2 separate regions of the Homo sapiens genome follow, and region 1 is linked to region 2. Evidence: promoter capture Hi-C in 16 types of primary human blood cells and fetal thymus (Javierre and others, 2016). All regions are on one chromosome and are shown on one strand. Each heading gives the region's core, a stretch centred on a gene start or on the middle of the fragment in contact. The rest is flanking DNA. Distances are from core to core; before and after follow the strand shown. Region 1 has its middle 96 kb from the start of RASEF. Region 2 holds the start of TLE1 (TLE family member 1, transcriptional corepressor).

The links. The method cuts DNA at HindIII sites, captures the fragments that hold promoters and counts their contacts. A CHiCAGO score of 5 or more calls a contact.
Region 1: a fragment that was not itself captured here is called in contact with the fragment with the promoter of TLE1 in region 2 in 1 of 17 cell types (fetal thymus); the score reaches 5.3 in fetal thymus.

What each region holds. Positions count from the first base shown.
Region 1 is chr9:82,964,126-82,969,591 of GRCh38, forward strand. No RefSeq gene overlaps it. Among named protein-coding and RNA genes, the nearest start is that of RASEF, 96 kb to the right of the region's middle. The HindIII fragment of the contact is 5,454 bases long and covers 1-5,140 here.
Region 2 is chr9:81,687,137-81,692,327 of GRCh38, forward strand. It overlaps TLE1 (TLE family member 1, transcriptional corepressor), which reads right to left and starts at 2,411. Exons shown (of 20, transcript NM_005077.5): 1 at 1,081-2,411; 2 at 198-298. The coding sequence starts at 1,104. TLE1-DT (TLE1 divergent transcript) reads left to right here and starts at 2,577. Exons shown (of 4, transcript NR_109772.1): 1 at 2,577-2,823. RefSeq lists an enhancer at 1,722-2,436 and silencers at 2,309-2,658, 2,809-2,958. The HindIII fragment of the contact is 8,493 bases long and covers 1-5,191 here.

The sequences.
Region 1 (5,466 bases), core at 1,164-3,663, 1.3 Mb after region 2:
CAGCTGCCACTGTTCATACAACATATTGAGTTGGCAATAGCTTTAATTATTGTCTCATGCTATCAGGATATATTAAAATCTAAATTATCCATTGGGTTGGAGAAAAGGAAAATGGAGGAATATGAAATTTGGAGGTATACTCTTAATACTAATCCCTTGGGACTGTAGCTTGTGTTCCTCTCATTCAGAAGTATTGACTGAATGACTGAAAAAAGAACCAACAGATCAACCAATGAGGAAACAAGTAAATGAAGAAACCAAGATGTCCCCGACCAATCAAAGGTAAAATGTTGCCATAGGCAGCTCTGCTTGTACCTCTATGCAATGGACAAACAAGGAGACCATTTTCTCCTTGTACATAGGCAGTGTCTGGAGCCAGGATGTATATGCTAACTAGTGACCTAGCTGGCCTGATCAGGAGTGGGCAGCTCCAGCAAGCCTAACTCCACAGAGCCAGAGAGCATTCATAACCTCGTGTCCAGGAGAGAGTGCCAGCCGATAGAAGCCAGAAGTGTGCTTCTGCAATGAATCATCAGGATAAAGGAGGTTGGTGGTAGGTATTGGAAATCAAGAGAAAGAGCCAAGGTGAAGATCCAAGAGGTTAGAGAGCCACAGAAGGTTAGCCAAGCAGATTAGAGTAGGTGGGCAGGAGGACAGCCTGTGCCAGCACCGGAGACCACAAGTATTTTGCATGGCTGGGCTTTCTTTTGGCTTTGTGTTTATTTTTTTAAATGGGTAATACATATACATGGAGCCAATCTCAGAAGGTTCCAAAAGGGATACCAAGCAGTAGTCGCATTCTCACTCTTGTCTTCCAATTCCCCAGTTCTCCTCTCCTGAATTTCTTCTGTATCCTTCCATAGATAGCCCATGCATAAGTAAGCATATGTGTATCCACAACCTTTATACCACAAACCATATCATAGTATACATATCAGTCTGTAGCTTTCTTTTTCACTTGACAATACATCTTAGACATGGTTCCAGAGCAGTATATGTAAAGCTGGTTCATTCTTCCCTGAGGCCTTATAATACTCCATTGTATAGGTGTACCATAATATATTTAACTAATTTTTAAATGAATATGTAGGTTGTGTTCCAATAACGCTGCAATGATAAGGCATTTTGGATATGTGTAGACATATCTGTGAAAGTGAAGCTGCTGGGTTACAGAATATGTGCACCTTAAATTGTGATAGATATTGCCAAGTCACCCCCTGAATGGGTGATATCAGTTAATACTCCAAACTATGCATGTGCCTGTTTCTCCCAAATACTTCCCAACAAAATTTACTATCAAACTTTTTGCAATTGCCAAGTTAATCAGTAGGAAAAGTGATATATCATTATGGTTTTAATATGCATTTTTCTTATAATGTATGATATTGACAAACTTCTTATGATAAAAATTGACACAGATGTAAATTTATTAGGACCCATTTGAGAGGCCTCCAATCAAAGGGGCCAATCAATATTCTGGGAACCAACCAAGAGACCTGGGTTTGAAGTTTGAGATACGGTCTCACTGATGAAGCACCTACAATGTGCAGATATATTTGCTCCTCAGGTAGAATTTTGCTGTTCCACAATGCTGTTATTTATCAGAAACAACCCTGATTAAATGATTTTTCTAAAGCTACCTTTCTGATAAGGGGAAGAGCTATATCCATGTCCCAGTCAACTGGACTCCACACCCTGTGCTTTTTCCGAGTCCTAGTTTTACTAACTGCTACCTTGGAACCAAAAGCCCAGTAGATCTGGGATCAGAAAACCTGGGTATGTACATCAGTCTGCTACTCACAGGCCATGTGACCTTGAGTAAATAACTTAACCTCTTTGGTGGGGTCTCAGTTTTCTCAACTAATTTATCAAAAAAACTGTAGTTGTTACCTCAAAGTCCTTTCAGGTCTCAGACTTTTAAGACTTTGTAATATGGCAAAAATTCTGATGTCTAATGGGTAAAAGAAAAGCAAGCGTCCTGGATTATCCAAATGCATCATCTCCCCATCTCCTAAAAATTGAGAGCTGATATATTTAAACACCTCATTTAGAAAATGACTGCCACCTTAAGCTCCTTCCTAGACACCACCAGCACTGTGAAGGAGGCACTTTTCTGCTTTTGTTCATCTCTTTAGAACTGTTCCTCAATCACTCTTTTTTCTTTTCTCTTTTTTTGCTTTTTCCCATTACCCATGTACAGAGTCACCTTAGGCTAAGGAAACACAACTGAAGAGAAACTAATTTTCTTCTAGACTACGGTTCATCTGAGTGTCGTTTCTTTGTTTTTAACATTTTGAAGCGGTCTGCAGCCTCCTCTCCAAAGTAAGGACAGGCTGGTGAGAGGAAGCGGAGACAGAGCTTCCCAATGGCCCAAGGATCCCAGGTGAGCAAATCCCTTTAGAGAATAAAGTTGTCATGCTCTTTAATGGTGAGATTCTTTAAGAAGAAAAAACAAATCTCTGCAAATTGTTGCTCACATTTGTATCACTCCTTGACCTAAGTAGCACATACTTCACTTCATTTGGTGTTCATTTAGTGTTCTATGCAGAGAATGGGGAAAACAGCCTGGCAAATAACTAGAAAGAACATCCACTCTGATCATCGGCCAGGTGTCAAGCAATGTGCAAAGCACTTAACTTTCTTTACTTTTTAATCTAAATAGTCTTTAATATAGATAAGATAGATATGGAAACTAAAACTCAAGATATGTTTGTAAGTTGCCCAGGGTCACAGAATTAGGAAGTGGCAGAAGTGGAATTCAAGGCCAGGTCTGTTAGATTCCTAAGCCCATCTGTATACAATATTGGGTACAATGACCTCTGTTCCAACTCAGCAATTCCTAGGTCTTAAAAGTCATCTAGACATGAATTCTCAAGGGGGGGTGATATTGTCCCCAAGAGGGGAGAATTGTTTCTCGGGGGGGAGGGTGAGAGGAACCTTACTTTTTAAATGTATAAAACACAGCTATGTGCACAGTTCATAAACATATATGTAATATATCTGTGGCATTAACATTTCCTGGGCAGAGGACAATTAGGAAAATATGCCTAAAAAGACTTTTTTGTGGGAAAAAGTTTTAAAACTTGAGAAACACTGATCTAGACATATCCCTGATGCAGCTCTTGGGTGCCTCATGCTGTGTCATGTTGCCTCCTGTTTGTCTACTTGTCTCTTTCCATCAGACATATAAACCTCTTCAGAATTGAGGACTGCTAAATTTGACATTACCAATCGGTGGGCAGCTACTTTTAAAATTGCAGCCACTCCTAGTTATTTTACAAAGAAGAGGTTGGAAAGCATTCAGATTGGGCTCTATCAAGGTGTGAGCCCACCTCCAAGTGTCCACTAGGCTGAAGCGGGCTGGCCACCACCATCTGATTGGGTTCCAACCATCTCCTCATCCTGCTCTTGCTGCTCCTTGCTCTTCCGCTCTCCCCAGACTTCCACTCTCCTTACTCCATCTTCTTTTTCATCTCCTCTAAAGTTCATAAAGGAAATGGTCTGACCTTGAATTTAGAGGATGAGATCCACCTGAGTACGTTCACTGGCACAAAAGGTGAGGCCACTGTGGTTCCCCACCTCCCTTCACCAGCTCAGCTCTCCTGTGTAAAATAAGATCTGGGGAAATGACTACACCTTAATTCAGCCCAACCTGAATATGTAAAGTACACGAAAGAAGCCGGGAAGTGTGGATGCTGAAGAAATAGCGTATGATCCAGGGCTCTAAGGAGCTTATGCTCTCTGCACCCCGTTTTTCCCTAAACGTACGTTCAGACAGAACTTTCTTACCTTTTCCTGATTTCTTCAGTTTTCTTCATCTCGGTTAAGGATCCCAAAGCAACTCAGAACAGAACCCTAAATATTTTCGTAATTCCTTAAATAATTAAAAAAGTGGCCTTCAGTTCTCCGATGCCAATCTCAATTTCTACCTACTGGAAACTGTAAAGATTTTTAACATTTCCTTTCCTTGCAGTTTTTCCTGCAATCAGTTTCCTCATTGAAAGTGTAACAGGTGTATATAGCCATGGAGGCCACCTGCCCTTGACTGCTGTTCTGAAAGTGGAGACACCTGTGGGTAAAGTGGAGCGATCACAAAAGCTCTTAATGTTACTGCTAGACTGTGAGATCCTAGAGGGCAGCAGCTGTGTCTTGTTCATCTGTTTGGTCCTCTCCTCCCTACTACACACACACACACACACACACACACACACACACACACACACACACACACACACACACACACACTTGAAGCAACAGAAATTGATCCTCTCCCAGTTCTGTAAATCAGAAGTTTAAAATCAAGGTGTTGGCAGGGCCAGGCTTCCCTGAAGGCTCCAGGGGAGAATCCGTTCGATCCCTTTCTCTTGGCTGTTGGTGTTACTGGCAGCCCTTGGCATTCCTTGTCTTGAAGACACATCACTCCAGTCTGTCACATGGTGTCCTCCCTGTGTGTGCCTCTACATGTTTTTCCCTCTTTATGTATGGACACCAGTCACATAGTGTTAGGGCCCACCCTAGTCAAATATGACCTCATTGTATTTTGAGGACATCTTCAAAACCCTTGCTTCCAAATTAGGTCGTATTCACTGCTACTGGAATTTAGGTTTTGGCATATATTTTAGGAAATATAATTCAATTTGCAACAGTGCCTTAATGAAAAAATGAGTAAATAAGTACATACTTCACAGAAGAAAGGAGAAAAACAGGGAAGGAGGGAGGGAAGGAGGGAAAGAAGGAAGAAAGGAAGGAAGAAGGGAGGGAGGGAGGGAAGGAAGGAAGGCAATTTTTCATAATATTTAAAATATTCTATAAAGAAAAAAATAACCATCTCAGCTAAGTTTCCTGAGTTGATGTTCTGATGAGTCATTATGTGATTTGTATTCCTTTGTAAAACTGTCTCACATGAACAAGTCTTTCCCCCTAAGTCTAGTGATTAATTTCCTATCTTTATGCGTATTAGGGTTCTTTTTAAAAAGAAAATTACCTGATAGTCAGTGCTGTGCATTAATGCCATTAGGAGCTTAGGTTAGGATCTTGTTTACTTGTTTGTTAATGAGGGAAATAATTTTATTTCTATGCTTAAGAGAATCACTAGTAATCAAGTCATATGCATCTAGTTCTTCTTCCCTTTCTGACTTGAAGCTTAGCCCCACGTCCCTCTGTACCCACCAAAAAGAAAGAAAAAAATACAAAGAAGGAAGGATGGAAGAATGGAAGGAAGGAAAAAGAGAGAAAAAACAAAACAAAAAAAGAAAGAGTGGAGGAAAGCAACCCCACACTGTCGGTTCTTGTTGCTGCAAAGCAAGAGGAAGTGTGGCGTCTTGAACTATCAGTCTGAAGACAGGAGGCCTGGGTCCTGGGTCCAGTTCTGAAACCACAATGACAACCACAGGCTACCCCTGATTACCAGCTACTTCACCAATTAAAACAAGTGTGTGCGTAATCTCCAAACTCATTCTCAGCACT
Region 2 (5,191 bases), core at 1,161-3,660:
GGAGGAGGAGGAGACAAGAGAAGAGGCGGCCCGGGAAGAACCAGGAAAGGGGGTAACTTGAATGACAGGTCTTAACTGAGACTCCACACGCCACCGCCTGGACGCAAGAACTAAGTACAGGCGCCGCCGCCACCCGGCTGGGTGCAAGGGGCACCGGGACGCCCGCGACCACTCGCATGGCGCGGCCGGACACGCACCTGTGATACTGCGCCTGCAGGAACTGGAATTCCTCTTTAATCCGGTCCAGGGACTCCGGGATAGTGAACTTGAAGGGCTGGCCTGCAGCCTGGTGCGGCGTCTGGGGGCGACCAGCGAGGGGGACCGAGGGACGGGAATGCGGGCGGATGAATAAAGCAGTAAGTCAGAGAAGGCAAGAACGGGTGGGACATAAACATAAAGTTAGAAGTGGCTGAAAACGAGGCCCCAAACTCGAGTTTGCCCTTCACTATGGGGAGGGGGAAAGCGGACCCTCCCCGGGCCCCGGCTTCTAAAGAGGCTCGGAAGCTCTTCCCAGTCTCCAGGGCGGATTGCGCTAAGTGCGCCCGGGTCACCAGGCCAAAGGGAAGGGGGCTCCCCGGCGGCCAGGGAAGACCAGGCCAGATTGTCGGTGTCGCCGCCCCTTCCCCCACGGCGGCGATAATGACCCCGGGGACCAGAGGAGAAAAACAACTCCTTTACGCTCCCCATTCCCAGAGTCGCCGGGGCCACCTCCAGACGCACCGGAACCGGGGCCGCATTGACATGTAAATAGGCGAGAGGAGAAACAAAGGGGGGGGCGCCCTGCCCCCACTCGGGGAAGGTAGAGGGGATATGGCTGCAGGAGAGAAACCCCAGCCTTCCCCAGCGCCCCTGTCCGCTCGGTATAGACGTCAAGTAGGAAGGAGCCCAAAGGGAGGGAGAAAATTAAGAGTTTCGGCCCACTCCCCACCCCAGGAAGAGAGGGCCCCAGACCTCCCCAGCCTTACACCGCTGAGGGCGAGAAGGTCCGCCGGGCCTCAGAAGCCACCAGTCTCCCTACCGCCCGGGAGAAGCGCCTCCCCAACGATCCTGGCCCCCCACCACCACCCAGCCGCGCCTCACCGGGTGCCGGCTCTGCGGGAACATCGCTCTGGCGGCGGCCGGGGCTCTGTTCCCCGGCAACTCAATTCTCCGGTCAATTTCCAACTTTAATCCCGCCGAGGAAAATTAAGCCGGAAAGCCAAGCAGAAGCGGGGAGCGCGCTGGCCACGCACGCGCGCTCCGCCGGGCGCACCGGCCACTCGGCGCCCGCAGCTGCTCCGGCTCCCGCTCCCGTCGGTGCGGGCTCCGGCCCTCAGGGCCACATTAGTGGGCGCCCCAGGCCCAGCTGCTTCAAGAACCTGCGCGGAGACGTCGGGCGCTCGGGGACTGTGCGCGGGGGCAGCGCTCCAACCCCCGGCCTCAGCTGCCCGGGCGGGGAGGCGGGGGCGCGGTGACTCCGACCGCACTCCCCTCGGCGATCCGCGTGCGCGGCGCCAGTCCTGGGCAAACAAATCCAGACGGACTGCTTTTCTTTGCTCTTCTCCTGGTCCGCCTCCTCTTCGGGCTTTCCCCGAGGCGGCGGCGGGCGAGGTGCAGGTGGCGCGGCGGCCCCCGCTAACCCCACACAAACCCGACGCTTTCGGGGCGACTCCCGCAAGATTCGGCTGCGCCTTCGGCCGGGTGCTCGCAGGCTCCCGGGACGCAAAGGGGAGCGAGGTTGAAGACGCAGCGGAGGCTCCTGGCCGGGGAGCGACGGATGACGAGGCGGGGAAAGTGCGGAGGGCGCGCCGGGAGGCGGCTCGGCACGCCCCGTGCGACCAGCACTCGGTGTTCTCCGCGGTTGCACAAACCCTCCGGGCCCGACGGGGCTACTCCACCGAGAGCAGTCCCGCAAGTGCCCAATGCTCCTCGAGCCCGGGGAGCATCAGGGCGCCGCGCCTCGGGCGCACTCGCCCTGCACGGCCGGACCGGCCGCTCCGGACCCTTCTTCCGAGCTCCTTCTTCCTCGGTCTTCTTTCTTTCCTTCCTTCACCTTCGTGTGCTTCTCCGCAAAGGGCGCTCCAGCCCACTGCAAAGTTCTCTCACCACCCGAGGGACGACATCCACGAGATGGTGGGGAAAACAGCAGGAGTGCGCTCCGCCAATCGGCCACCCTCCCCGGCGGGCAAACTCTGCGGGCGAGTCCAGAGTAGTCACAGCGGTGGGGCCAGCGGGGGTTTTGGTCGCCGCGGGACGACGGAGGTCCGGGCTGGTGGCGCGGGTCCCGCCCGGCCGTGCGAGGGTGGGGTGGCGCAGTCGGCTGCCTCCGGGACGCGGGGCACAGAGTACCCGCCGCTGTTTCTGCTGCTGCTGCTTCTGCAGCCGCCGCTCCCACCGCCGCCGCCGCCCGCGCCTCTCGCGCCGCTTACATTAACACGCGGTTTCACACTCCGGAGCTAACCAGCGCCGGCCCCGCCCAGCCCCGTTCGGGCGGGGGGCGCGAGCGCGGAGCCGGCGGGGGACGTGAGCCCGGGAGGTTGGGGGGTGGGGGGGGGGCAGAAGGCCCGCATCAGCCAATCGCGTGCGCTGCAACCAACGTGGGGCGCTGACGCGCTCCTCCCCGGAGCGTATGGCAGCGCAGCGCCGGACGGGGCGTTCTCCCTCCCCCCCTCCTCTCGCTTCCATCTCCGCCGTCTCCTCGGTCTCCCTTCCCATCCCGGCCCCTCCTCCGCCAGCCGCGTCCTCCCGGGCTTGGTGAGGAACTGTTCCTGGAGGAGCCGCGGGACGCCAAAACCAGCCAATGGGAAGCGGCGATTCGCGGAGATTGGCACTGATGATGGGAAGGTCGGTGGGAAGGAGAGCGGCGGGGCTGGGCTGTCAATCAAAGTAACGTGGGGCTGGCTAGAGAGCGCGCGGGCGCGCGCTAGCGGGAGGGACTGGCGAGCGTGCAGCCGGGGAAGCTGAGGGCTCGAGTTAGCAAAAATCCTGCCACTTGCTCACTTTTCCCTTTAATGAAAATCCTCAGATCTAAGTGAAAGTAACTCAAAGACTAGCTGCGGAGTTTCTTATTGGAGGCGGAGGGGGGCTTTTGGTAATTCGAGCAAATGTGTTTTTCAGTGCTGGACCCCTTGTTTGATGCTACTCTAAAAGTGAGGCCACATTCAAAAATTTATCTGAGGTTTGTTTTTCCTTGAGCTGCCTTTTTACGGATGTACGAGAGGGAGTGGACTGTGCACTTAGTTGGAAATGCGTAAATGAGCAACGCCACGGTTGGCGTAGGTACACCAGCAAAGACGACTGTGATGTCCTCCCACCCCACCCACCCCCTTTGCACCCAAAGTGGTAGGATTTGATTTTTATTGCAGGATTTCAAGCCACTTTTCAAAAAGATCGTCCTGTCCCGTTTGGCGGGAAGGATTCCCAGGGTGCTGCCAGAACAAGGCACGCGTGTCCGCAGATGAGACGTTTTGCCCGGGGCGCGAAATCCCAGGTCTTCGTCTTAAAAGTCCTGACTTCGCTGTGTTGGGAGAGGTGGGGAGCGGCTGAGGTTTTTAGGAACTTCTCAGCTACAAGACTACGAGTCTGTTTCCAATTCCTGGGAACAAAGAGAGACAATGTAATAAACCAGCACTGAGACCTGAAAAACCTGTCCCGCACACCCCACCCCCACAGTCTGGGTGGTACTCCTGAGCTGAGCTGTGTGAAGAGCTAAATGGGAAGAGTTAGGTAAATGACGTGGCTAAGGTTCTTATGAAGTGGAACTTGAGTTAAAAGGGATTTTGAGATTGTAATAATCAAGACATGCTGTATAATTAATGCTGAGAGTCTTTGGTTTTTGTGTATGTCTCTAAATACACAGCAGAAAACCGTCAGTATTGCCGCATTTATGCTTTTGTTTGAGGAACATTTCCACATGAGCAGTGAATGAATAATGCTGGTTTAGCCAAACGGTGGTAACTTCTTCCATAAGGGCACATCTTGGACAAGTATTTATCTTATGTTGGAAACTAGTTAAGTTTTTGGTATTAATAACCCCCACGTTATTATTTTATTATTTTACCTTCAAGAGACTTACGGGAAGGAGCTTATTTAAACAGACATACATTTTATTTAAAGATGTGCTTTTACAGAGTTCTTTTTCTTGAAATAGTTTTAGAAGTCATTTTAGATAATACATTTCACTGTTGGAGTTGTTTTTAAATATGTATGATATTGATTTGTCTATAATTGCATCACTCCCAAATATCAATTATAAATGAAAAAATAAAAAAGCGATTTTAACCAGTCTGTACGAAGCCATAGTAAATTCTTAAACAAGTTGGGCATTGTAGCTTTGTGGTGTTCTCATTAAGTACAGTTGGGAAGGCGGCTGTATTATTCATTTTGCTAACATGGAGAACAAAAAAGAAGAAAGCACTGCCTCACTTTCCTTGGTTAAATTTGGTGACGATGACAGTTTTGCTCGACATACAGGACTTTTTGGAATCATAGGATCCCAGGGCCTTTAGCAACCTGTTTTCCTTGAAATTATCTAGTGATTGAGCCACATATACCAGTCTGCGGCCAGTTCATCCCATAATCAGCTCCAGGACCGGACAGAAAGTGCTTGGATGCCACAAGTATGCTTGTATACATGCTGTGACAACTGGAGCAACTGATATTCCTCCCCGGCTTACCCAGGCTTTATGTGGTGCCTGTATCTTGAATAACTGGCACACTCCCATTAAGTTTAAACAGAGCCATTAAAATATGCTTTGAGATGGGGCAAAAGTGTTGCTACTTCTCTTCTTTCCCCACCCCGCTGCCCTCAAAATCAGTACTAAGGCATCTTTAAATGTTCTCTAACATAACTACTCACAGACAATGTGTCTGCTCACCATATTTCCCAGTTTGCCATGAGTAAACACTAGAAATTCTCTTTTAACTAGTCTTTCCTTGCCAATAGAGTTTGAAACACCAGGCCTTCTGATTTCCTTATAATGAAGTATCTGTAGTATCTACAGAGCATTATGAATTTAAAATTGGAAGGCCTTTAATTGTGTGCATAAAAATGGTTGGTTTTGGTTTTTGAAGCCTTTTTTTCCCATTTAGAGCATCGTCTGTCAGAGTGGGAGAAGGCTCTGCCCTTTTCAAGGTCATATTTTCTCCACGATTGTCATGCTGTAATAATTATACTACAAAACTCTCATCAAACTGCATTACAAATGACGGC